Regions from separate parts of the Homo sapiens genome. Here regions 1, 2 and 4 are each linked to region 3. Evidence: promoter capture Hi-C in human tissues and cell types (Jung and others, 2019). All regions are on one chromosome and are shown on one strand. Each heading gives the region's core, a stretch centred on a gene start or on the middle of the fragment in contact. The rest is flanking DNA. Distances are from core to core; before and after follow the strand shown.

What was found. The method cuts DNA at HindIII sites, captures the fragments that hold promoters and counts their contacts. A contact is called where the count stands out against the background at its distance.
Region 1: a fragment that was not itself captured here is called in contact with the fragment with the promoter of LIN7B in region 3 in 2 of the 25 tissues and cell types used here (liver and thymus).
Region 2: the fragment with the promoter of BAX here is called in contact with the fragment with the promoter of LIN7B in region 3 in 4 of the 25 tissues and cell types used here (aorta, heart left ventricle, neural progenitor cells and 1 more).
Region 4: a contact is called between the fragment with the promoter of SLC6A16 here and the fragment with the promoter of LIN7B in region 3, in 2 of the 25 tissues and cell types used here (adrenal gland and mesenchymal stem cells).

What each region holds. Positions count from the first base shown.
Region 1 is chr19:49,262,415-49,268,872 of GRCh38, reverse strand. The region is part of intron 2 of LOC107985340 (a long non-coding RNA gene); the gene reads right to left. Among named protein-coding and RNA genes, the nearest start is that of MIR4324, 43 kb to the left of the region's middle. The HindIII fragment of the contact is 4,018 bases long and covers 519-4,536 here.
Region 2 is chr19:48,952,361-48,958,976 of GRCh38, reverse strand. It overlaps BAX (BCL2 associated X, apoptosis regulator), which reads right to left and starts at 4,102. Exons shown (of 6, transcript NM_138761.4): 1 at 4,015-4,102; 2 at 3,378-3,429; 3 at 3,144-3,290; 4 at 2,644-2,779. The coding sequence starts at 4,048. RefSeq lists enhancers at 3,628-3,837, 3,287-3,854, 3,855-4,423 and a silencer at 3,958-4,107. The HindIII fragment of the contact is 13,021 bases long and covers 1-6,616 here.
Region 3 is chr19:49,109,908-49,115,762 of GRCh38, reverse strand. LIN7B (lin-7 cell polarity scaffold B) reads right to left here and starts at 1,393. Exons shown (of 6, transcript NM_022165.3): 1 at 1,322-1,393; 2 at 796-914; 3 at 432-503. The coding sequence starts at 1,358. RefSeq lists a silencer at 994-1,573. The HindIII fragment of the contact is 18,984 bases long and covers 1-5,448 here.
Region 4 is chr19:49,321,922-49,328,488 of GRCh38, reverse strand. It overlaps SLC6A16 (solute carrier family 6 member 16), which reads left to right and starts at 3,298. Exons shown (of 12, transcript NM_014037.3): 1 at 3,298-3,441. RefSeq lists a silencer at 1,040-1,191 and an enhancer at 1,985-2,134. The HindIII fragment of the contact is 19,669 bases long and covers 1-4,643 here.

The DNA of each region.
Region 1 (6,458 bases), core at 1,278-3,777, 150 kb before region 3:
TCATTAGAGACTATTATGAACAACTATATGGAAAACTTAGAAGAAATGGATAAATTCCTGGACACATATAACCAGCCAATATTATGAAGAATTAGAAAACCTGAACAGACCAATAATGAGCAACAAGCTTGAATTAATAAAAAGTTTTCCATTGAAAAAAAGCTCTGGATCTAATGAATTCAGTTACAAATTCTACCAAACATTTAAAGAACTGTAGCTGGGCATGGTGACACGTGCCTGTACTCCCAGCTACTTGGGAGGCTGAGGTGGAAACATCAGTTGAGTCCAGGAGTTCAAGTCCAGCCTGGGCAACATAGACCCTATTTCTTTCCTTCTTTTTTTTTTTTTTTTTGAGACAGAGTCTCACTCTGTCACCCAGGCTGGAGTGCAGTGGCGTGATCTCAGCTTATTGCAACCTCCACCTGGTTGAAGTGATTCTCCTGCCTCAGTCTCCTGAGTGGCTGGGACTACAGGTGCACTCCACCATGCCCAGCTAACTTTTTGTATTTTAGTAGCGACAGGGTTTCACCATGTTGCCCAGGCTAGTCTCAAACTCCTGAGCTCAGGTAATCCTCCTGCCTCGGCTTCCCAAAAAGGTGGGATTACAGGTGTGAGCCACTGGGCCTGGCCGATGCTATTTCTTTAAAATAGCACATCAAGAAGGTCATTTGCCATGATTAAGTGGGATTCATCCCAGGGATGCAAGGATGGTTCAACATATGCAAATCAATAAACATGATACATCACATTAATAGAAGGACAAAAACCATATGATCTCAAATTCAACATGCCTTCATGATGAAAACCCTTAACAAATTAGATATAGCAGGAACATAGTTGGTTACAATAAAGGCCATATATAACAAACCCACAGCTAGCATCATACTCAATGGGGAAAAAGTTGAAAGCTTTGCCTCTAAAATACAGAAAAACACAAGGTTGTACCACTTCTATTCCACATAGTACTGGGAGTCCTAGCCAGAGCAATTAGGCCAGGGAAAGAAAGAAAGGGCATCCAGGGGTGGGGGCGCATGCCTGTAATCCCAGCTACTCGGGAAGCTGAGGCAAGAGAATCACTTGAACCCAGAAGGCAGAGGTTGTGGTGAGCCAAGATCATGTAATTGCACTCCAGCCTGGGCAACAAGAGCGAAACTCCATCTCAAGAGAAAAAAAAGCATCCAACTGAAAAGAAGGAAGTCAAATTGTCCTTGTTTGCAGAAGACATGATCTTATATATAGAAAACCCTACAGCCTCTCCAAAAACCTGTTAGATTAAACAAGTTCAGTGAAGTTGTAGGACACAAAATTAACATACAAAAATCACTAGTGTTTCTATATACCAACACCAAACTATCTGAAAAAGAAATCAAGAAAACAATCCTGTTTTCAATAATAACAAAAATAAAATACATAGGAACAAATTTAACCAAGGAGGTAAAAGATCTCTACAATGAAAACTATAAAAAATTGGTGGAAGAAATTGAAGAGATTACTAATAAATGGAAAGACATCCAATGCTCATGGATTGGGAGAATTAATATTGCTAAAGTGTCCATACTACTCAAAGTAATGTACAGATTCAATGCAATTCCTGCAAAAATACCAATGACATTTTTCACAAAAAAATCCTAAAATTTGTATGGTGTAGGGACTAGCCCCACAGGGTCAGTGGGTTTTTCTCCGTGTGTGTGGAGATGAGAGATTGTAGAAATAAAGACACAAAACAAAGAGATAAAAGACAGCTGGGCCCGGGGGACCACTATCACCAAGAGGCAGAGACTGGTAGTGGCCCCAAATATCTGGCTGTGCTGTTATTTATTGGATACAAGACAAAGGGGCAGGGTAAAGAGTGTGAGTCATCTCCAATGATAGGTAAGGTCCCCTGGGTCATGTGTCCACTGGACAGGGGGCCCTTCCCTGCCTGGCAGCCGAGGCAGAGAAAGGAGAGAGAGACAGCTTATGCCATTATTTCTGCATATCAGGGACTTTTAGTACTTTCACTGATTTTGCTACTGCTATCTAAATGGCAGAGCCAGGTGTACAGGATGGAACATGAAAGCGGACTAGGAGCGTGACCACTGAAGCACAGCATCACAGGGAGATGGTTAGGCCTCTGGATAACTGCGGGTGAGCCTGACTGATGTCAGGCCCTCCACAAGAGGTGGAGGAGTAGAGTCTTCTCTAAACTCCCCCGGGGAAAGGCAGACTCCCTTTCCCAGTCTGCTAAGTAGTGGGTGTTTTTCCTTGGCACTGACGCTACCGCTAGACCACAGTCTGCTTGGCAACGGTTGTCTTCCCAGACGCTGGCGTTACCGCTAGACCAAGGAGCCCTCTAGTGGCCCTGTCTGGGCATAACAGAAGGCTCGCACTCTTGTCTTCTGGTCACTTCTCACTATGTCCGCTCACCTCCTGTCTCTGTATGGCCTGGTTTTTCCTAGGTTATGATTGTAGAGCGAGGATTATTATAATATTGGGATAAAGAGTAATTGCTACAAACTAATGATTAATGATATTCATATGTAATCATGTCTATGATCTAGATCTAGTATAACTCTTGTTGTTTTTACATATTTTACTATAGTGGAACAGCTCATGCCCTCGGTCTCTTGCCTTGGCTCCTAGGTGGCTTGCCGCCCAGAGTATGGAATAACAAAAGACCCTGAATAGCCAGAGCATTTTTTTTTTTTTTGAGATGGAGTCTCACTCTGTTGCCCAGGAGGCTGGAGTGCAGTGGCATGATTTCAGCTCACTGCAACCTCCGCCTCCGGGGTTCAAGTGATTCTCCTGCCTCAGCTCCTGAGTAGCTGGGACTAAAGGCGTATGCCATCATGCCCAGCTAATTTTTTGTATTTTTAGTGGAGATGGGGTTTCACCATATTGGCCAGGCTGGTCTCCAACTCCTGACCTCAGGTGATCCACCTGCCTCAGCCTCCCAAAGTGCTGAGCCACTGAACCCGGCTGATGTTGAGCATTTATTTATATACTTGTTGGCCATTTGTATGTCTTCTTTGGAGAAATATCTACTCAGGTCCTTTGTCCACTTTTTAATTAGGTCGTTTGGTTTGTTTGCTATTAAGTTGTATGAGTTCCATTCATATTTCGGATGTACATTGCAAATATTTTCTGATTCCATAGATTGCCTTTTTTTTTTTTTTTTTTTTTTTTGAAATGGAGTCTCACTCTGTCACCCAGGCTGGAGTGCAGTGGCGCAATCTCCGCTCACTGCAAGCTCCGCCTCCCGGGTTCATGCCATCCTCCTGCTTCAGCCTCCCGAGTAGCTGGGACTACAGGCACCCGCCACCACACCCAGCTAATTTTTTGTATTTTTAGTAGAGACGGGGTTTCACCATGTTAGCCAGGATGGTCTCGATCTTCTGACCTCGTGATCTACCTGTCTCGGCCTCCCAAAGTGCTGGGATTACAGGCGTGAGCCACCGCGCCTAGCCTCTTTTTTTTTTTTTCCTGCTGTGCAGCTTTGGCAGATGCTAGGGCTTATGGGGAATGGGGAGATGTTGGTTAAAGGGTACAAACTTTGAGTTATAAGATTATTAAGTTCTGGGGATCTAATATATACATGGTGGCTACAGTTAATAATACTGTATTATTTACCTGAATTTGATAAGAGAACAGATTTTTTTTTTTTTATTTGAGACAGTCTCGCTCCATCGTGCAGGCTAGGGTACACTGGTGCAATCTCAGCTCACTACAACCTCTGCCTCCTGGGTTCAAGTGATTCTCCTGCCTCAGCCTCCCGAGTAGCTGGGATTACAGGCACCCACCACCACACCTGGCTAATTTTTGTATTTTTAGTAGTTTTGCCACGTTGGCCAGGCTAGTCTTGAACTCTTGACCTCAGGTGATCTGCCCACCTCGGCCTCCCAAAGTGCTGGGATTACAGGCGTGAGCCACCACGCCCGGCCAGAGAACAGATTTTAAGTGTCCTCATCACATACATACGCACGCGCACACACACGATAATTATGGTGGTTATGGATGTGTTAATTTGATTGTGGTAATCATTATACAGTGTATACATAAATCATATTATGCCTTGAATATATACAGTTTTTGTCAATTAAATATTTTTAAATTTAAAAAGAATATACTTTATTAACCATTAAAATTATTAATTAAATCTGAAAAGCTTTTGAGCTTCGTGTTTTGGGGGCATCAGTAACTGGATCTTTTTTATTGTGTATTACATTGTATGAATATGCCACTATTTGGAGGCTATTGTGAATAAAGTGGCAACAAATATTCTCGTACATATTTTTATGCACATAGACGTGACTTTATGGGTCATAGAACAGGTGTTTTTGTCTTTAGGGAGTCTGCCAAACACCCGTCCAAAATGGTGAAATCACTTTCCGCTCCCGCCAGCGATGGAAGGGCGCTGCGGTCACTGCACATTCTGGACAGTATCTGATGAGCTCAGTGTTTTCAGTTTTGGTCGTGCTGGTAGCTGTGCGGTAGTACCTGATTGTGGCTTTAATTTGCATTTTCATCATGAGTAATGATATCTAGCACTTTTATATGGCTATTGGTCATCTGAATAGCTGCTTTTGTGAAGTCCCTGTTCAAGTCTTTCACCTTTTCTTAGGCTTTTTTTTTTTATTGTTTTGTAGGCATTATTTATATTCTGAATACAAGTCATTTGTCACATGTGTGCATTACAAATGTGTTCCGTCTGTGGCTTACCTATTTACTTTCTTAAAGATGTCATTGAATTTTTAAAAACGTCTTAATTTTAATGAGGTTGAGTTCTAATTTTCTTAGTGCTTTCTTTGTGTATATTTAAGAAAATGTGCTACCCAAAGTCAAAGTGATATTTTCATATTTTTTTGGAATCTCTTTTGTTTTACCCTCCACATTTATATCTATGATTCATCTTGAATTAATGTTCGTGTGTCATGTGAGGTGGGCTCAAGCTTATTTTCTACATAGATATCATTATTCTGGCACTACTTATTGAAAAGACCATCCATCGCCACCCAATCACAGTGGCAATTCTATTATAAATTAAGTGACCACATAGGCTGGAGTATATTTATGGACTCTCTTTTCCATTGATCTATTTATTATCCTTTGCCAACACCACACTCCCACCCCTCTCTCCAGCCCCTCCCCCATCTCCCCCGCCCCTCCCCTCCTGTTTTAATTATGTAGCCTTAGAGTAAATCTTAAGATAATAAGATAAGTCCACGGTAAGTTAAGTCTTCCAACTTTGGTCTTCTTCAAGATAGCCTTAGCCATTCTAAGGTCTTTGGCTTTCCATATAATTTTAGAACGAGCTTGTCTGTTTCCAAAAAACCAACAATATGGGATTTTGTGTTTAAGATTGCCCTGAATCTGTAGATCAATTTGGGGATAATTGACATTGTAAAAATGTTCAACTTGCCAACTCATGAACATGGTAAAATTCTCTAAGTGTTTTGCATTGTTTTGTAGTTTTCAGCGAGGTCTTACACATTTTAACTACATTGATTACTAAGTATTAAATTTCTTTGATGTTTTAAAATAGTATTTTCCAATTATTTGTTGCTACTATACAAAAATATAATTTTTTGTACAATCGCCTTATATATAGGAACTTTGCTAAATTCGATTACAAACTTAATTTCATCCATTTGTAGATTCTTTTTACATATACAATATCTGGGTTTTTTTTTTCCTGAGACAGGGTCTTACTCTTTTGTCCAAGCTGGAATGCAGTGGCATATCAGCTCACTGCAGCCTCAAACTCCTGGGCTGAAGAGATCCTCTCTCCTCAGCCTCCTGTGTAGCTAGGACTACAGGCGTGTACCACCACATCTGGCCAATTTTTTATTTCAATTTTTGTAGAAATGGAGTTTTGCTATGTTGCCCAGGCTGGTCTTGAGCTCCTGGCCTCAACTGATCCTCCTGCCTCACAGTACTAGGATTATAAGCATGAGCCACTGTGCCCAGCTACATACATGATCTCTTGACAGTATACTTACATCACCTTTAAATAAGGAAAGTTTTATTTACTTTGATCTTTATACTTTTTTTTCTTGCCTTATTGCACAGGCTAGGACCTTTAATACAATGTGGAATGAACATCCTTACCTTGTCCCCAAACTCAAGAGAAAAGCATTCATATTTCATTGTTCAGTGTGATGTTAGTTATAGGCTTAAGGAAGCTGTAGATTAAGGAAGTTGCCTTCTATTTCTAGTTTTCCCACCATTTTTTTTTTCAATTGTTCTCCAATATTTTTCTTCTACATATTATGAACCCCACAATACATTGCTGCTATTGTTACTTTAAGCACTCATTAGTCTCAAATTTGCCTACACGGTCTTGCTCTGTTGCCCAAACTGGAGTGCAATGGCATGATCAGCTCACTGCAGCCTCAAAACTTCTGGGGCTCAAGTGATCCTCTCTCCTCAGCCTCCTGAGTAGCTAGGACTACTTTGACCTAGGTAGTAGCTGGGACACC
Region 2 (6,616 bases), core at 2,853-5,352, 160 kb after region 3:
TCTGGCCACTTCTATTCTATCATCCCCGCTCTGTAGGTGGTGCCACCATCACCTGCACTGCTATTCCCCTCATCTCGGACGTTCAGGCCCCATCAGCTCAATCTTGAAAACACATCAAGAAATATCCCTCTCAGCTGAGCACGGTGGCTCACGCCTGTAATCCCAGCACTTTGGGAGACCGAGGCAGGCGGATCACCTGAGGTAAGGAGTTCGAGACCAGCCTGGCCAACATGGTGAAACCCCATCTCTACTAAAAATGCAAAAATTAGCTGGGTGTGGTGGCGGACGCCTGTAATCCCAAGCTACTCGGGAGACTGAGGCAAGAGAATCGCTTAAACCCAGGAGGTGGAGGTTGCAGTGAGCTGAGATCGCGCCACTGCACTCCAGCCTGGGTGCAACCGAGAGAGACTCCGTCTCAGGAAAAAAAAAAAAGAAAGAAAGAAAGAAATATCCCTCCCATTTGCTGGTGTGGTGGGGAGAGCCTGTAATCCCAGCTTCTCAGGAGGCTGAGGTAGAATTGCTTGAACCCAGGAGGTGGAGACTGCAGTGAGCCAAGGTCATGCCACTGCATTCCAGCCTTGGTAACAGAGCGAGACCCTGTATCAAAAAAAAAAAAAAAAAAAAAAAAAAATCTTCCAAAAAGAAATATCCCTCCCTGTTGGAGACCAGCCTGGACAACATAGCGAGACCCCGTCTCTATAGAAAAAGACTAATGCAACAGTTAGTGGGGCGTGGTGGCATGCTCCTGTAGTCTCAGCTACTCTGGAGACTGAGGCGAGAGAACTGCTTGACCCCAGCGGTTTGAGGCTGCAGTGAGCTATGATCACTACTGCACTCCAGCCTGGCCAACAGAGCAAGACCCTACCTCTTAAAAAAAAAAATGCCCCCCCCGCACCTCTGCTGCTACCACCAGGGCTTGTCATCTTTCAGCAAGACTATGACAGGTGCCACCTCTCCAGGATCCTCGCTTCTGCCCTTGTGCCTCATGATCTCTTTTGGCCAACAACAGCCAGGAGCATTTCACCACCACCCCCACCACATTTTCTTATGAGAATCTTCATAATGAAAAGTTAAAAGAATTTCACAGTTAAAAGCCATATAGCCGCCACCTATAATTAGATTCTACAATTAACATTTTGCTATACAGACAGTCCCCAACTTATGACGGTTTGACTTACAATTTTGACCTTACTATGGGTTTATCGGGGCATTGAATGCATTTTCAACTTATGTTATTTTCAATTTATGATGGGATTACTAGGATGTAACACCATTGCAAGTCAAGGGGCATCTATACTTGCTAGAATAATCTCTTAAAGTTATAAATCAGGTCTTGTCGCTTCCGTATTTAAAACCAGCCAATCACTCCCATCACACTCAGAGTAAAGTTAAAGTCTTTCCAGGCTGGGTGCAGTGGTTCACGCCTGTAATCCCAGCACTTTGGGAGGCCAAGGTGGGCGGATCACTTGAGGCCAGGAGTTTGAGACCAGCCTGGCCAACATGGCGAAACTCCGTCTCTACTAAAAATACAAAAACTAGCCAGGCATGGTGGTGTGTGCCTGTAATTCTAGCTACTTGGGAGGCTAAAGCATGAGAGTCACTTGAACCCGGGAGGCAGAGGTTGCAGTGAGCCGAGATGGCGCCATTGCACTCCAGCCTGGGCAACAAAGTGAGACTCTGTCTCAAAAAAAAAAAAAAAAAAAAAAAAAAAGAAAAGAAAAAGTCTTTCCAGCAGCCCGAAAAACTCCACACAATCTGCCCCTGCCCAACTGTGCCTTCCTTTCCCACCCTCTCCCCAGTTCACTCTGTTCCAACAGCACTGGCCTCCTCCCTACTGTCAAAAGATGAGGCTTGGTCCTACCTCAGGGCCTTTGCACTTGCTGTTCCCTCTACCAGATGCCTCTTCCCCCCGATCACTATAGATCACTGCATGCTTCTTATCATTCTAGCTTTGGCTTTAATGTCACCTGCTCTTTGATGTCACCTGCCCTTAGAAGTCTTTCCTGGCTTGTTGCGGTGGCTCATGCCTGTAATCCCAGCACTTTGGGAGGCCAAGGCAGGTGGATCACTTGAGGTCAGGAGTTCAAGACCAGCCTGACCAACATGGTGAAACCCGTCTCTACTAAAAATACAAAAAAAAAAAAAAAAAAAAAAAAAGCCAGGGATAATGGTGCACACCCATAATCCCAGCTACTCAGGAAGCTGAGGCAGGAGAATCGCTTGAACCTGGGAGGCAGAGGTTGCAGTGAACCAAGATCATGCCATTGCACTCAAGCCTGGGCAACAAGAGCAAAACTCCATCTCAAAAAAAAAAAAAAAAAAAATAGAAATCTTTCCTGACCACTCTGCTAAATCACACTGCCCACTTTACTTCACCCCTGCACGTGAACTCCCTGAGAGCAGGGATGTAGCCTGCTTTGTACAGTGCTGTGTCCCAGGTGCCAGGTATAGGCCTGGCACATAGCAGGTCCAGTAAATGCTTGTTGAATGAATAAAAGAAGGAGCAGACACCCAGTGCACAGCCATCTCTCTCCATGCCCTCTGTGGTCACTGGGCCACTGCAGGGGGTTGATACCACGATCCCCAGGTCCTCACAGATCTGAGGGGGAGCATCCCTGGGCTCACTGCCCTGCAGCTGCCCACCTTGAGCACCAGTTTGCTGGCAAAGTAGAAAAGGGCGACAACCCGGCCCCAGTTGAAGTTGCCGTCAGAAAACATGTCAGCTGCCACTCGGAAAAAGACCTCTCGGGGGGAGTCTGTGTCCACGGCGGCAATCATCCTGCAGGAGAGAGGAGAACCAGTGCCGGGGAGCAGGCATCAGGCTGATGGTGGAAAATTCCCGCATCCACCGCACACTAAAGATAAGGAGACTGAGCCCCAAGCCAGGCTGAAATGAAAAGCAACAGGCCAACGGGGGACAAGGGAAGGGGACAAGACAGACATTTAGGAAGGTGGGAAAAATGACTCCCTGAAGGAGGGTTTTAAGATCCTGGCAGAGAGGAGGGCTGGGAGTCCGGAATGTTTGCGCTGAGTTGTGGGGCCCAGACTCCTAGTTCTTAGGGGAGGAGGAGAATGCGGGGCTGAGAGTCCTGTGTCCTGAAGGAGCCCAGTGGCTGGACTTCTGGGTCCTCAGGGGCCCACACCTCTGCAGCTCCATGTTACTGTCCAGTTCGTCCCCGATGCGCTTGAGACACTCGCTCAGCTTCTTGGTGGACGCATCCTGAGGCACCGGGTCCAGGGCCAGCTCGGGTGCCTCCCCCCCCATTCGCCCTGCTCGATCCTGGATGAAACTAGAGTGGGGATGGAGTGAGGGTGCAGAATCAGAACGGGGTGTCACTCCTCAAATCTGTGCCACAATAATCAGACCTCAAACTCACCCCTGAAGCAAAAGGGCCCCTGTCTTCATGATCTGCTCAGAGCTGGTGGGCCCTAGAGGAGAAAGGAAGGGAAGAGGTACCTGGACTCTTGGGTTCTAGGGGATCAGGAGACTGTGGAGACTCACGGCCCCTGAGGGAGGACAGAGCTGGGGACCCTGGACTTCTGGGACCCTAGCAGATAAAGTGACGGGGGGGCCCAGACAACTGAGTCCCTGATGGAGAAAGGCCAGGAGGCTGGGCCTGTATCCTACATTCTCCCCGGGGAAAGAGGCTAGGGGAACGCTATATGCATCCAGACCCCTGGCCTGAGGGGGCAGAGGCGAGACCCGCCCCTCCCACCAGTGCCAGAGGCAGGAAGTGGTGCGGGCGACAAGCCCGGGCCTGCCCGGGGGCTTGGCTTCCGAGATCCCCTGGTTCTCGAGGGTCCGAGAGCGCCAGAGAGGCAGGGATCGGGACACGGGGATCAGAGAGCCAGGAACCTCCGAGGACGGAGGGGACTGGAGGCTGGCAGCGCCCGATCCGGGAGTTTCTGCCCCTCAGTGCTTGGAGATCGCACAGCCCCAGGCCGGTAGGAAGGATCCCGGACGGGCCGGCGAGGGGGCTCGCCCTCCTCCCGCCCGTCTGCCTCCCGCCTCACCCCCGCCTCTGGGCTGCTCCCCGGACCCGTCCATCACCGCCGCTCCCGCCGCCGCCTCTCGCCGGGTCCGCGCGGGCGGCCGCAGCGCGCCCGGGTCACGTGAGAGCCCCGCTGAACGTGCGTCCTTCACGTGGCCGCCCCGCAAAATGGCCGCTGCCCCGCAGCGCCGCCGGGTCACGTGACCGCACCTGCCTCGCTCCCTCGGGAGGTTTGGTCCCGTCACGTGACTGTCCAATGAGCATCTCCCGATAAGTGCCAGCAGTGGCGCCGTCCAACAGCCGTCCGTCCAATCGCAGCTCTAATGCCTTCATTTATCCAGGCACCATTTTTAGAAGTTTCGGGCAGGGTTTGAGCTCTCCCCAGCGCAGAAGGAATTAGCAAGTGCAAAAGCTCAGAGGCCCAAAATAGCATGCTTCCAGGCAGGACGTTATAGATGACTAAAAACTGAGTGGTTTTGTTTTTTGCAGAGACCTGGATCTAGCAATATAGCCCACGCCCAGGCTTGTCTCTAACTTGTGAGCCCAAGAGATAACCCCGTCTCAGCCTTCCAAAGCGCTGGGATTACAGGCATGAGCTACCGCGCCAGGCCTGCTTTTCTGTTTGTTTGTTTTTTCCTGTTTTTTTTTTTTTTTTTTTTGAGACAGGGTCTCACTGTGTTGCCCAGGCTGGAGTGCAGTGGCCCAATCATGGCTCACTGCAGTCTGGAATTCCCGGGCTGAAGCCTCCCACCTCAGCCTCCTGAGTAGCTGGGACTACACCGCCCCTGGTTAATTTTTAAAACTTTTTATGTGGAGATGAGGTCTCTCTATGTTGCCCAGGCTGGTCTCTGAACTCCCAGACTCAAGCGATCCTCGCACCTTGGCCTCCCAAAGTGCTGAGATTACAGGCTTGAGCCACCCCACCCAGTCATGACTCGAATGTTTGTGTTTGTGTAAAAAGAAAAGGAATATGAAGTTTAAAAAGTGGCAGAAACTAATCTGTGCTGATAGATCAGCAGGGTATGGAGGGGAGGGGCCACAAGAGACACTCCCCGGGTGCCCCAAATATGCCATATTTTTATCTGAATGGTGTTTACATGGGTATACACATTATTATTATTATTATTATTATTATTATTATTATTATTTTGAGACGGAGTTTTGCTCTTGTTGCCCAGGATGGAGTGCAATGGCACGATCTCGGCTTACTGCAACCTCTGCCTCCGGGTTCAAGCAATTCTCCTGCCTCAGCCTCCCAAGTAGCTGGAATTGCAGGCATGCGACACCACGCCCAGCTAATTTTGTATTTTTAGTAAAGATGGGGTTTCACTATGTTGGTCAGGCTGGTCTCAAGCTCCTGACCTCAAGTGATCCACCTGCCTCGGCCTCCCAAAGTGCTGGGATTACAGGCGTGAGCCACTGTGCCCGGCCGGGTATACACATATTTACAATTCATTGAGCTGTACACATAAGACTTGTGTGCTTTATGAATATTATGACATGTCACTTTAGACAGAAAATAATAGCAACTAAGGAAAACTCAGAAAAATGAGCTAGGATCAGATGATAAAGGGTTTGGGCCTGTCAGAGAAGGGACTTGATCTATGTCCAGAAGGCCGCTGGGAAGCATGGGGAAATTTTGAGCAGGCAAAGGGCAGAGTCAGACTAGGGTGTCAGGAAGATCTCTTGGACTTCCTTCTTTCTCGAAAAAGCTCCTGGTTGGGCTCAGTGGCTCACTTCTGTAATCCCAGCACTTTGGGAGGCCGAGATGGGTAGATCACCTGAGGTCAGGAGTTTGAGACCAGCCTGGCCAACACGGTGAAACCCTATCCCTACTAAAAATTCTAAATTAGCCAGGTGTGGTGGCAGGCACCTGTAGTCCCAGCTACTCGGGAGCTGAGGCAGGGGAATCGTTTGAATCTGGAGGCAGAGGTTGCAGTGAGCTGAGATCGTGACCTTGCACTCCAGCCTCAGTAACAAGAGGGAAACTCCAACTCAAAAAAAAAAAAAAAAAAAAAAAAAGCTCGCATAGCACCCAGGATGTGTAATGCTTCTCACAGCTGTAAATGTGTGCAGTGTTTTAATTTCATGTTGGTTTTTTTCATCCACCCAAAATTTCCACAAGGTTAATTTGTCCTCAATTCTCCCAGAAACCAGCATGTTACTTGATTCATAGTTATCTCTCAAAATGTGTTATTCAATAACTGTATGATTGAATGTTGGGGAGCATGCAGAAATCAGACATTGTCTGCCTCTGACATTCAGAGAAGACTTCTCAGAGGAGGTATTTCCTCTTGACCTTGAAGGATCAGTTTGTTTTGAAAATTGAAGAAAGGGGCCAGGTGTGATGGCTCATTCCTATAGTCCCAGCACTTTGGGAGGCCAAGGCAGGAGGATCACCTGAAGCCAGGAGTTCAGGACCAGCCTGGGCTGTACCATGGTGAGACCCTGTGTCAACTAAAAAACAAAAGAAAGGAGGGGGGGCCGGGCGTGGTAGCTCACACCTGTAATACCAGCTGTGTGGGAGGCCGAAGTGGGTGTATCATCTGAGGTCAGGAGTTTGTGACCAGCCTAGCCAACATGGCGAAACCCCGTCTCCACTAAAAATACAAAAAAATTAGCTG
Region 3 (5,855 bases), core at 144-2,643:
CCACCTGCCTCGGCCTCCCAAAGTGTTGGGATTACAGGCGTGAGCCACCGTGCCTGGCCTCAATCTTACTTTTAAACAGAGGAAAGCCAGGCCTGGAGGGAGATCTGAGCCTCCGGACAGCAGCAAGAGGTAGCAGCATCTAACTATTGTGCAGTGAGAGGTCAGAGCGCCATGAGTTTCCTGGTTTGCACTGTACAGATGTTGAAGGTTATCTTCTACCAACCATGCCATACTGTTTCCATTTGCAGTTGCTAAAGATGCCTTAGTATGACATTTAAGTTAAAAATGTGCGATTATTTACTAATAGTAAGGTGGCACATAGATTTAGCAAAAATCATGAGGGAGGAAACAGAAATGACTGGCATGAAGGAGATATTGAGTTCGACTAGGCAGTTAAATAGACACCAGGAGCAATGGGGTGCGGGGCCCACCTTGGCTGTGGCATGGGCTCGGATCTCGGCGCTGCCGGTGATGTCCAGCGTGTCATAAAGCTGCTCATACACCTGGGTGAGGAGGCAGCGGCATCAGGGAGTCGCCAGCTCCTCCAGCCCTAGACGCAGGAGTTCAGGCCTCTAGACCCTCTCCCGCTACCACGCAAGGATCCGCCCCGCCCCCGCAACAGAAGGCCGAGAAAACTACAACTCCCGAAGAACCCCTGAGCTGAAGCGTTGGCACCCCAAGGCGGGCCGCCTCGGGAGCTGCCGGGAGGCGTAGTCTCCGGGCTCGGGACAAGCAGGAGGAGGAGGAGGAGGACGACGGCCACCAGCTCGCGCCCCTGCGCCGCGCGCCCCTCACCTCTCGGATAGCGGAGCAGAAGCGGCTCTGCAGAACTCGCTGGAGGGCCTGCAGCTTCTGCGGCGGCAGCTCCCCGCTGCGCTGGAGCCGCTCGAGGAGCTCAACCGCCCGGGACACGTCTGCGGGGCGGGGGCGGGGCGCAGAAACCCCGAGTGTCAGAGACCCCGAGACGCAGAGAAGCAAGGAGAGCGGCGGAGTGAGGCCGAGCGCACAGTCCGGGGAGGACGGCCGAAGCCTAGTCGGACACCCCGCAGAGTCCAGGGTGGCGCAGGAGAGACTGCCACCAGCGGCCCTGCGGCCCCGGGACCCCTCCACAGGCCGGGTTGTAAGGCGGGCGCCCAGCGTCCCGGCCCGCGCCCAGGGAGCCTCCCACACCTAGCGACCGCCCGGCCCCGGCGCCCGCCCCGCCCACCCCCTCCGGGTCCGCTGGCCCACCCGCACTGGCCTGACCCGGGAAGGGCGGGGACCGGGGGCTGGGTATGTAGGCCGCGGCCCGGGTGGGCAGGGCCCCCTGGCGCACGCTTACCCCGCTCCAGCCCCAGCGGCTCCACCAGCGCAGCCATGTCGGCGCCACAGCTGCCAGCCGCCCGCCTGCCCTGGCGCCGGCGAGGAGGGCGGGGCTGCGCGAGGCCACGCCCCGGGCCACGGGCGCCCCCTGCGGAGGCGCAGCCTGGAGAGCGCCCAGCTCTCCCTCGCCCGACTGCTCCGACCACCTGCCGCGCGCCAGCCGCGCCCTGCCCTCCGCCCCGGCCAGTCGGTCCTGTTGGCGACCCCTCCCACTGCAGGTTCGGTCTGTGTGTACCTTTCAGGATCCGTGTCTGCCTGCCCTCCACACCCGTCTATCCCCTGTCCATCCTTTCCCCACATTCATTCAACAAACTCTTGTGAAACATCTGAGCCCAAGTCATGGACACCGTGGTGAGCAGGACAGCCAAGCCCACGGCCCGAACGAAGCTTCCAGTCTATAGGGGAGGTAGACGACCAACTACGGCTGTGATGAGAGCTGAGAGTGGGGAGGTGATGATCTAGAAAACGAAGGAAATCCTAGAGGAGGGACATTGACATACAGTCCTGGGAGGTAAGATGAACAAGAGGTGGAGCTTGGGTCACCCCCACCACCCAGAAAGAGCCCACGTGGCTGGAAGCAGAGTTAGGATTGGTTGATGATGAGGTGAAAAGGTCGGCAGGATAGTTTATGCCTGGGCTCCTGCGTTGGCATATGCGCCTTGAGGATTTGGGGCTTCATGCAAACTCCTAAGAGAAAAATATGACACTCAAATTTGTATTATTATTATATTATTATTATTATTATTTTTGAGACGGAGCCTCGCTCTGTCGCCCAGGTTGGGCCTCAAATTTGTATTTTAAGATCACTGGGGCCGGGCACGGTGGCTCACACCTGTAATCCTAGCGCTTTGGGAGGCTGCAGCAAGACTACTTGAGCCCAGGAGTTCAAGACCAGCATAGGCAATATAGTGAGACCTCGTATCTATTGAAAAAAAAAAAATCACTGTAGCCACTGTGGAGACTGGTTTGGACAAGAACAAGAGGAGAAGCAGCGGGGCAACTTACGAGGCTACCACAGCCATCCAGGTGGCAGCTAGCACCAGGGCCAAAGCACAGAAGATGGGTGGGCAGATGTGGGAAATGTCTAGACAAGCCTTGGTGCTTGGCTATATAAGGGGATTGGGAGGTGCAGGAGAAGACAGTATTAAGGTGCTTTGGTGCCATTTTTAAGATGGTCTACACTGAAAGAGGGATACTGGATATTTTGTTTTTGAGACACAGTCTTCCCTCTGTTGCCCAGTCTCGAGTGCAGTGGCGTGATCTCGGCTCATTGCAACCTCTGCCTCCCGGGTGCAAGCAATTCTCCTGCCTCAGCCTCCTGAGTAGCTGAGAGTACAGGTGTGCACCTCCACACCTGCCAAATTTTTGTATTTTTCATAGAGATGGGGTTTCACCATGATGGCCAGGCTGGTCTCGAACTCCTGACCTCAAGTGATCCACCTGCCTCAGCCTCCCAAAGTGCTGGGATTACAGGCGCGAGCCACCTTGCCTGGCCGATACTGGATATTTTGAATTTGAGGAGCCTATGCAGAATCCATGGGGAGAAACTATCGATCTAGGTCTAGGGCTCAAAAGAGCAACCTGGTCTGCAGGCATGTTTGAATATTGGGGCATAGGTGGTAAATAAAACCACCGGAGTGGATAAGAATGTCAGGGGCAAGCGAATATTAAGACGGCCTAGAACTGGTCCCCAGACCTCTCTAACACTTAAAAGTCAGGAGGACAGCAGAGAATGGCCTGAAATGTAGGCAGAAACCCAGGTGGGAGAAACCATGAGAAGAGGGGTTTTTAAATTTTATCTTCTTTTTTTGTTTGTTTTAGATGGAGGGGTCTTTGTTGCTCAGGCTGGTCTTGAACTCCTGGGCTCAAACAATCCCCCTGCCTTGGCCTCCCAAAGTGCTGAGTTTACAGGCACGAACCGCTGTGTCTGGCTGCGAGTGTTTTTAAAAAGAAGTGTGGCTGGGCATGGTGGCTCACGCCTGGAATCCCAGCACTTTGGGGGGCCGAGGCGGGTGGATCGCCTGAGGTCAGGAGACCAGCCTGACCACATGGAGAAACCCTGTCTGTACTAAAAATACAAAAGTAGCCAGGCATGGTGGTGCATGCCTGTAATCCCAACTACTGGGGAGGCTGAGGCAGGAGAACTGCTTGAACCCAAGAGGCGGAGGTTGCGGTGAGCGGAGATCATGCCATTGCATTCCAGCTTTGGGAAAAACAGCGAAACTCCGTCTCAAACAAACAAACAAACAAAAAAAGTGAGGCCAGGTGTGGTGGTCACGCCTGTAAGCATTTTGGGAGGCTGAGGCGGGCGGATCACCTGAGGTCAGGAGTTTGAGACCAGCCTGGCCAACTTCATGAAACCCCATCTCTCCTAAAAATACAAAAAATTAGCTGGGCGTGGTGGCGGGTGCCTGTAATCCCAGCTATTTGGGAGGCTGAGGCAGGAGAATAGCTTGAACCCAGGAGGTGGAGGTTGTAGTGAGCCGAGATCGTGCCATTACACTCCAGCCTGGGAAATAAGAGCGAAACTCCATCTTGGAAAATTAAATAAATAAATAAAAAATAAAAAAAGGAAGTGGTCAGTGGTATCATGCTCTAGAGAGGCCGAGGAGATGTGGACAAGACTTTGGAGAAAGTTGGCTGCTCTTCTGGTTCTGCTGGGTGGCGATATGGAGTCCAGAAAAGTGCTTGTTCCAAGTGGGAGGACTAGAGCAGGTTTGTCTGGCTGTCTCCTTCACTGTAGCTCTCTCTTTAGCAAAAAGTAATGTCTTTATGGGATTAAAAACAAAATCAAATAACACAGACAGGCTAATAATAGTGAAAAGCACCAGCCTCTACCTCTCCTAACTCTACTCACTGTGAGAGGGAACTTACAGATGTTTAGTCTGAGAGCTGCTTCTGTGTCTAAGTAACATGCTATTTCTCTCTCTATATATACATATATATGTGTGTGTGTGTGTGTGTGTGTGTGTGTGTTTTGTTGTTGTTGTCGTTACAGGGTCTCACTTTGTTGCCCAGGCTGAAGAGCAGTTGTGCAATCATGGCTCACTGCAGCCTTTACCTCCCTGGGCTCAGGTAATCCTTCCACCTCAGCCTCCTATCTGGGACCATAGGCGCACGCCACCACGTTTGGCTAATTTTTGTATTTTTTGTAGAGACCAGGCTTTTGCGATGTTGCCCAGGCTGGTCTCCATCTCCTGGGCTCAAGTGATCCTCCCACCTTGGCTTCCCAAAGTGTTGAGTTTACAGAGCCACCATGCCTGGCCACCACCTACTTAATTCTTAATTTCACTTGTGTTTTCTAGTTCTAGAATTGCCATTTAACTTTTTGTTAGATTCCAGATTTTTTTTTTTTTTTTGAGGCAGGGTCTTCCTGTCACCCAGGCTGGAGTGCAGTGGTGTGATCATAGCTCACTGAATCTCAAACTCCTTGGCTTAAAGAATCCTCCTACCTCTGCCTCTCAAGTAGCTAGATTCCAGATATCTCAACATTCTCCATCTTTTCCTTATTTTGTGAATATATCATAGTTATGATAACTCCAACATCTGAATCACCCCTGCCTGGGTCTCTTTCTATTGTCTATTTTGTTTCCCTCTTGGTTTTCAGCAAATTAAGTCCTTTCTAGCAAGGCTGGTAACTATTGAGTAGATGCTGAGTAATGGGTACTAAAAATAGTACATGTGGAGACTCGGAACGTTATCTTCTTCCAGAGTTTTCTTCTGACTAGCAGACTGCCTAAATCCTGAAAAAGTCTGGTTTTAGGCTTTCTTAGCCTGATTGATTATTTATTTATTCTTTTTGAGATGGAGTCTCACTCTGTTGCCCGGGCTGGAGTGCAATGGCACCATCTCGGCTCACTGCAACCTCCACCTCCCAGGTTCAAGCAATTCTGCCTCAGCCTCCCGAGTACCTGGGATTACAGGTGCTCACTACCATGCCTGGCTAATGCTTTGTATTTTTTAGTAGAGATTGGGTTTTGCCATGTTGGCCAGGATGGTCTCAAACTCCTGACCTCAGGTGGTCTGCCCACCTCAGCCTCCCAAAGAGCTGGGATTACAGGCATGAGCCACCGCACCTGGCCTCAGGGTAATTTTTGTATTTTTGGTAGAGACAGGGTTTTGCCATGTTGGCCAGGCTAGTCTTGAACTCCTGACCTCAAGTAATCCACCCACCTCTGCTTCCCGAAGTGCTGGGATTACAAGCATGAGCCACCATGCCCAGCCTCTTAGTCTGATTTCTTCTGTTATGGCGTTACTCTGACATTGAGGCACCCTGGCCATCTCAAGCAGAGCCAATCCATGGTGGGCCTTGAACCCCAACCTGTCTCCCCTAGAACAGCATGGCTGCTGCAGTCTCCAGGCCACCAGTTCCTTAGCCTCCCAGTTACTGCATTCTGATGAGTTTCTTGGGGGGGGGGGTCTTGCAGATAGTGAGCAGCTTGAGTTGGCAGATGCCTCTAAGGGAGGGTGCACGTAGATTTGGGAGGTCAGTG
Region 4 (6,567 bases), core at 2,049-4,548, 210 kb before region 3:
TCTGCTTCTATCTTTAGCCCATTGCTATGATTTGGCTGTGTCCCCACCCAAAATCTCATCTTGAATTATAATCTTCATAATCCCCATGTGTCAAAGGAGAGACCAGGTGGAGGTAACTGAATCATGGGGGTGGTTTCCCCAGGCTGTTTTTGTGATAGTGAGTGAGTTCTCATGAGATCTGATGGTTTTATAAGGGGCTCTTCCCTCCTTTGCTTGTGAAGAAGGTGCCTTTTTTCCCCTTTGCCTTCTGCCATGATTGTAAGTTTCCTGAGGCCTCCCCAGCCAAGCTGAACTGTGAGTCAATTAAACCTCTTTTCTTCGTAAATTACCCAGTCTTGAGCAGTTCTTTACAGCAGTGTGAAAACAGAGGAATACACCCATACATGCTATTCTCTGCCCAGAAGCCAGGGGGAGCCTGCCATTAAAATGAAAGTCACTCCTTGACTCAGAACCCTCAAATAGCTTTCATCTCACCCAGAAAAAAAAGAAAAAAATTCCGACCATGACCTATAAGGGCCTCCAAATAATACTCTGGCCCCTGCCACTGCTCTGATCTGATCTGTTGCTACCCTTTCCTCAATCACTGGGATCCATTCATATCAGACTCTTTGCCATTTCCAGAACCCATCAAGTGTACTTCTTGCCTCAAGGCTTTTGCTGTTGCCATTTTCTTTGCCTGGAATGTTCTTCCCTATGCTGTTCACAAGGCTCCCTTCCTTCAGCTCTCTGCTGAAATATCACTTTCCCCAAGAGTCCTTCTTGACTACCCTGTCTAAAGTAACTCCCTATCAGCACTCTTACTCTCTGAAATTCTTTCTATTTAGGCATTTACTTTCTTTGTGCAACTGGAACGTAAAATCTTTTTCATAACTATATCCCAGGGGTCTAGGACAGTGTGGGGCACATCATTCAATAAATATTTATTGACCGACTGAGACTTTTCCTGGTGCCTTGAACACACAGTTTGCCCTGCCTCAGGGCCTTTGCACAGCCTCAAGGCTTGAGATGTTCACACACATTTTTCACCTAGCAAATAATCCTTTAAGCCTCAACTCCAGTGTTATTTCCTTAGAGAAATCCTCCTTCTAAATTAGGTCTATGGGCCGGGCGCAGTGGCTCACGCCTGTAATCCCAGCACTTTGGGAGGCTGAGGCGGGCGGATCACCTGAGGTCAGGAGTTCAAGACCAGCCTGGCCAACATGGCAGGCTGACTCTACTAAACCCTGACTCTACTAAAAATATGAAAATTAACCAGGCGTAATGGCAGGCACCTGCAACCCCAGCTACTCGGAAGGCTGAGGCAGGGAGAATTGCTTGAACCCGGGAGGCAGAGGTTGCAGTGAGCCGAGATTATGCCACTGCACTTCAGCCTGGGTGACAAAGTGAGATTGTCTCAAAAAAAAAAAAAATTCGATAGAAATAAATAGGTCTGTGGCCCTTTTCTGTCGCAGCACTTTTTTTTTTTTCCTTGAGACAGGGTCTTACCCCATCACCCAGGCTGGAGTGTAGTAGTGTGATCTTGGCTTACTGCAACTTCTGCCTCATGGTTTTAAGTGATTCTTGTGCCTCAGCCACCCGAGTAGCTGGGATTACAGGCGTGCACCACCACACCTGGCTCGTTTTTGTATTTTTAGTAGAGATGGGGTTTCACCATGTTGGCCAGGCTGGTCTTGAACTCCTGGCCTCATGTGATCCGCCCACCTTGGCCTCCCAAAGTGCTGGGATTACAGGCGTGAGCCACCATGCCCGGCCTGTCATAGCACTTAATACAATTTATAATCATGTAATTATTTGAGATTCATCATATATCTGTTTTCTTGTTGTGTGAAGCAAAACGAGGGCAGGAATGGGGTCTGTTTTGTTCTCTACACTATTCCCAGTTCCTAGCATTTAGTAGACTCTCGATAAATACGTGTTGAAAGATTGAATGATTCCCAAAGATTGTGATGAATTCTTACAGCACCCCCAAAATTTCCTCTTCATCTCTTTGTTCAATCATAACAATTTAAGCCTTTCATTCTCAAAGTGTGGCTCAGGGACTCCTGGGGGCTCTTGAAACACTTTTGGGGGTCCATGAGGTGAACATTATTTTCATAATACTACTAAGATATTATTTGCCTTTCACTTTCATTTCCTCTTTGAATATAGTGATGTTTGCCAGAAGCTACAAGACATGAGCTATTTTGACACACTCAGTGCAGAAGCAGATATGAGAATCCAGCTGTCTTCTATGAAGCCAGACATTAGAGAGATTTGCAAAAATGTAAAATGATGCCATTCTTCTCCCCAAATTTTTTCTTTTTTTTCCTTTTTTTTTTTGAGACGGAGTCTTGCTCTGTTGTCTAGGCTGGAGTGCAGTGGCAAAATCTCGGCTCATTGCAACCTCTGCCTCCTGGGTTCCAACGATTCTCCTGCCTCAGGCTCCCGAGTAGCTGGGATTACAGGTGTGTGCCACCACGCCCGGCTAATTTTTTTTTTTTTTGACTTTTAGTAGAGACGGGGTTTCATCATGTTGGCCAAGCTAGTCTCGAACTCCTGACCTCGTGATCCACCCGCCTTGGCCTCCCAAAGTGCTGGGATTACAGGCGTCAGCCACCGCGCCCAGCGCCAAAATTTCTTTTGGAGTAGAAATTATAGTTATTTTAAATAAAAATGTTATTTTGACACATAATGAATTTTTAAACAATGACTATTTTAGAAATTTATTTTAATATTGATAGATACAACTCACATAAACATACAACCCATATAAATGTAACTCATAAATTATTGGAGTCCTTAATAATTCTTAAGAGACCGGAAAGTATGAGAACGGATGACCTAAGTAAATCTTTGAGTTTTTAATTCTTGTCTGCAGCCCTAGTAGGCTTCTGAGCTCTCTTAAGGCAACGTCCCTGTCTGCCTTGTTGGACGCATATTTAAGGTTTGGTTTCTAGTAGGCGATCTTTAAGTAAATGCGAAAGGTTTGAAGGCTAGAAGGAATGAATGAGACGATTCTCCCACTTCCTACCCTCTTCTTCCTTACATGAAGTGGAAGCAAAGTGCATGTGCCAGAGAAAGGCCTTGTCTTAGAGCCCCGCCTGAAGCGTGGCATCGTGGGTGTCGGGGTGGGGTGCGGTGGGGAAGGGAGTGGCGCGTGAGCAGTCAGAGGATGTGCACACGTGCGTGCGTGTGGGGAGAGAGCAGGGAGTTGGGGAGGGCGAAGTGGTTACAGTGTTTGCTACAGCTGTAGGGAAAGAGTGAGGGGGCGCGGCGGCGCATGCGCAGAGAATCGGCGGGAAAGGCCGCGCGCCAGGCAGATCGAGGGGTGTCGCCCAAACCGATCTGTCGACGCCTGAAGGGGCCTGAGGAGATTGCTAGGCTTCTCAGCTGGGGCTTCTTCACCCTCATTTTTGTCCGACTGGCTGGACTGAAGAACCTGGCAGAAGCCTTGGGGCTAGGGTGAGGGTCACGGCCCAGGGAGCCCTAAAATGTTCCCACATCTGGGGTGTGTGGGGCTGGGCGCCATTTTCGAGGCCCGGGCCCACTGGGCTCCACTGACGGGTGACAGGTGACTGGCTGGGAGCCTCCTGGTTGCCCTGGGCTCTGTGGAGCTGAGGGATCAAAGGGGTCCCTCCTTTACCCCCCACGTAGGACAGAGGAAACTGTCTTCGGCTCTCCTCACTCATCCAGTCCGAGTTTGAGCCAATTCCTTGACAGGATTCGGCCATCAGTCCCTGCCTTTGGGGAAAGCCATCAGTGTCAAGTGCCCGAGTGGCAGAAACCCGGGTCTAGCCCCATCACTGGTCTGTTAGGGCAGTTATTTTCTGCTTTTTGCAGAAATGGGACACCAGCTCCTTATTTTCCTTTTCTGGAGGTTATAGTTCCAGGGAAGGAGGTAATGTGAGGGGAATGGGCATTTCTGGGGGATCCTGAGCACTCCCCACAGGGCATGAGCCTAGGAGTTGCTTGGGATGACGGTGTAGGGGCACCATGGAGGGTTGCACCCATATGGGAAGAGGAGTCCGCCTGGGGCTCAAGGGGCTTTATGGATGTTGGAAGTGGCCAGCTGGCCAAAACTCAGTTCTCTCCCTTCCGTAAAGCTTGCTTTTAAGGACAACTGTTCTAGAATGTGTTTAAGAAACATGAATCTATTATTTTTTATTTATTTATTTATTTGAGATGGAGTCCCACTCTGTCACCCAGGCTGGAGTGCAGTGGCACGATCTCAGCTCACTGCAACCTCTGCTTCCCAGGTTCAAGCGATTCTCCTGCCTCAGCCTCCCAAGTAGCTGGGACTATAGGCGTGCGCCACCACCCCCAGCTAATTTTTTGTATTTTTAGTAGAAACGGGGTTTCACTGTGTTGGCCTGGCTGGTCTCGAGCTCCTGACCTCAGCCGATCCACCCGCCTCAGCTTCCTAAAGTGCTGAGATTACAGGTGTGAACCCCCGTGCCCAGCCTATTATTATTATTTTTAAGAGACAGGGTCTCTCTCTGTCTCCCAGGCTGGAGTCCAGTGGCATGATCACCTCTCACTACAGCCTCGAACTTCTGGGCTCAAGCAATCCTTCCACCTCAGCCTTTCAAAGAGCTGGGATTACAGGCTGAGCCACTGGAGGCTTGGTTTTCACTTATTTTGGGTGTATACCCAGAAGTGGAATTGCTGGATCATATGGTAATTCTATTTTTAAGTTTTTGAGGAACCACCATAGTGTTTTCCATGGTGGTTGCACCATTTTACATTCTGACCAGCAAGGCACAAGGATTCCAATTTCTCCACATCCTCACCAACACTTCTTATTTTCTGCCTTTTTATATTAGCCATCCTAATGGATGCGAGGTATTATCTCATTGTAGTTTTCATTTGCATTTCCTTAATGATTAGTGACGTTGAACATCTTTTCATGTACTTCTTGGAGATTGGTATATCTTCCTTGGAGAAATGTCTATTTAAGTCTTTTGCCCATTTTTGAATTGTGTTGTTTGTTTCTTTGTTGTTGAGTTTTACGAGTTCTCTATATATTCTGAATATTAATCTCTTATTATACATATGATTTTCAGATATTTCCTCCCATTCTGTGGGTTATCTTTTCACCCCTTTGATAGTGTCTCTTGATGCACAAATTTAAAACATTTTAATGAAATCCTGTTTGTTTCTTCTTTTGTTGCTTTTGCCTTTGGTATCATATCCAAGAATTCATTGCAGATCCACTATCATGAAGCTTTTGTCGTATGTTTTATTCTAAGAATTTTATAATTTTAAGTGTTACATTTAGGTCTTTGATTTATTTTGTGTATTTGTATGTGGTGTTAGGTAAGAGTCCATCTTTACTCTTTTGCCTGTACATAATCCAGTTTTCCCAGCACCATTTGTTGAAAAGACTGTCCTTTACTCATTGAGTAGTCTTGGCACCCTTGTAAAAAATCATTTTTCCATACATTGTTTCTGGGCCCTCTATTCTGTTCCCTTGGTCTGTATCTTTATGTGAGTAACACACTATTTTGATTACTATAGCTTTGTAATATGTTTTGAAATCAGGAAATGTGAGTACACCAGCGTTTTTCTTCTTTTTCAAGATTATTTTGGCTGTTCAGGGTCCCTTGAGATTTCATGTTAGTTTTAGGACGTGTTTTTCTATTTCTGCAAAAAAAAAAAAAAAAAAAAAAAAAAAAAAAAAAAAAAAAAAAAAGCTACTAATTCTGTAGATTGCTTTGGGTAATACTGACATCTTAACAGTGTTGTCTTCCAACCCATGAACATGGGATATTTTTCCATTTATTTATGTCTCCTTTAATTTTTTTCAGCAATGTTTTGTAGTTTTCTTTGTACATGTCTTTCACCTTCTTGGTTAATTCTTTTTTTTTTTTTTTTTGAGATGGAGTTTCACTCTTGTTGCCCAGGTTGGAGTGCAATGGTGCAATCTCGGCTCACTGCAACCTCTGCCTCCCAGGTTCAAGTGATTCTCCTGCCTCAGCCTCCTGAGTAGCTGGGATTACAGGCATGTGCCACCATGCCTGGGTAACTTGGTAATGGAAACGGGTTTTCTCCATGTTCGTCAGGCTGGTCTCGAACTCCTGACCTCAGGTGATCTGCCCACTTTGGCCTCCCAAAGTGCTGGGATTACAGGCTTGAGCCACCGTGCCCAGCCAAGTTAATTCTTAAGTATTTTATTCTTTCTGATGCTATTACAAATGGAATTGTTTTCATAATTTTCTTTTCAGATTGTTCATTGTTAGTGTATAAAAATGCAACTGAGTTTTGATTGTTGACTTTGTATCCTGCTACTTTGCTGAATTCATTTATTAGCTCAAAAATTTTTTTGGTGAAAATTTTAGGATTTTCTACGTATAAGATCATATAATCTTTCTAGTTTGGTTTCCTTTTATTTATTTATATTTTTGCCTAATTTCTCTGGCTAGGACTTCCAGTACTATGTTGAATAAAAGTGGCAAAATTAGACATTCTACGCTTGTTTCTAATCTTAGAGGAAAAGCTTACAGTCTTTTATCATTAAGTATGACATTTGCTGTGAGTTTTTCGTATATGGCTATTATGTTGGGATATTTTCCTTTTTTTTTTTTTGCT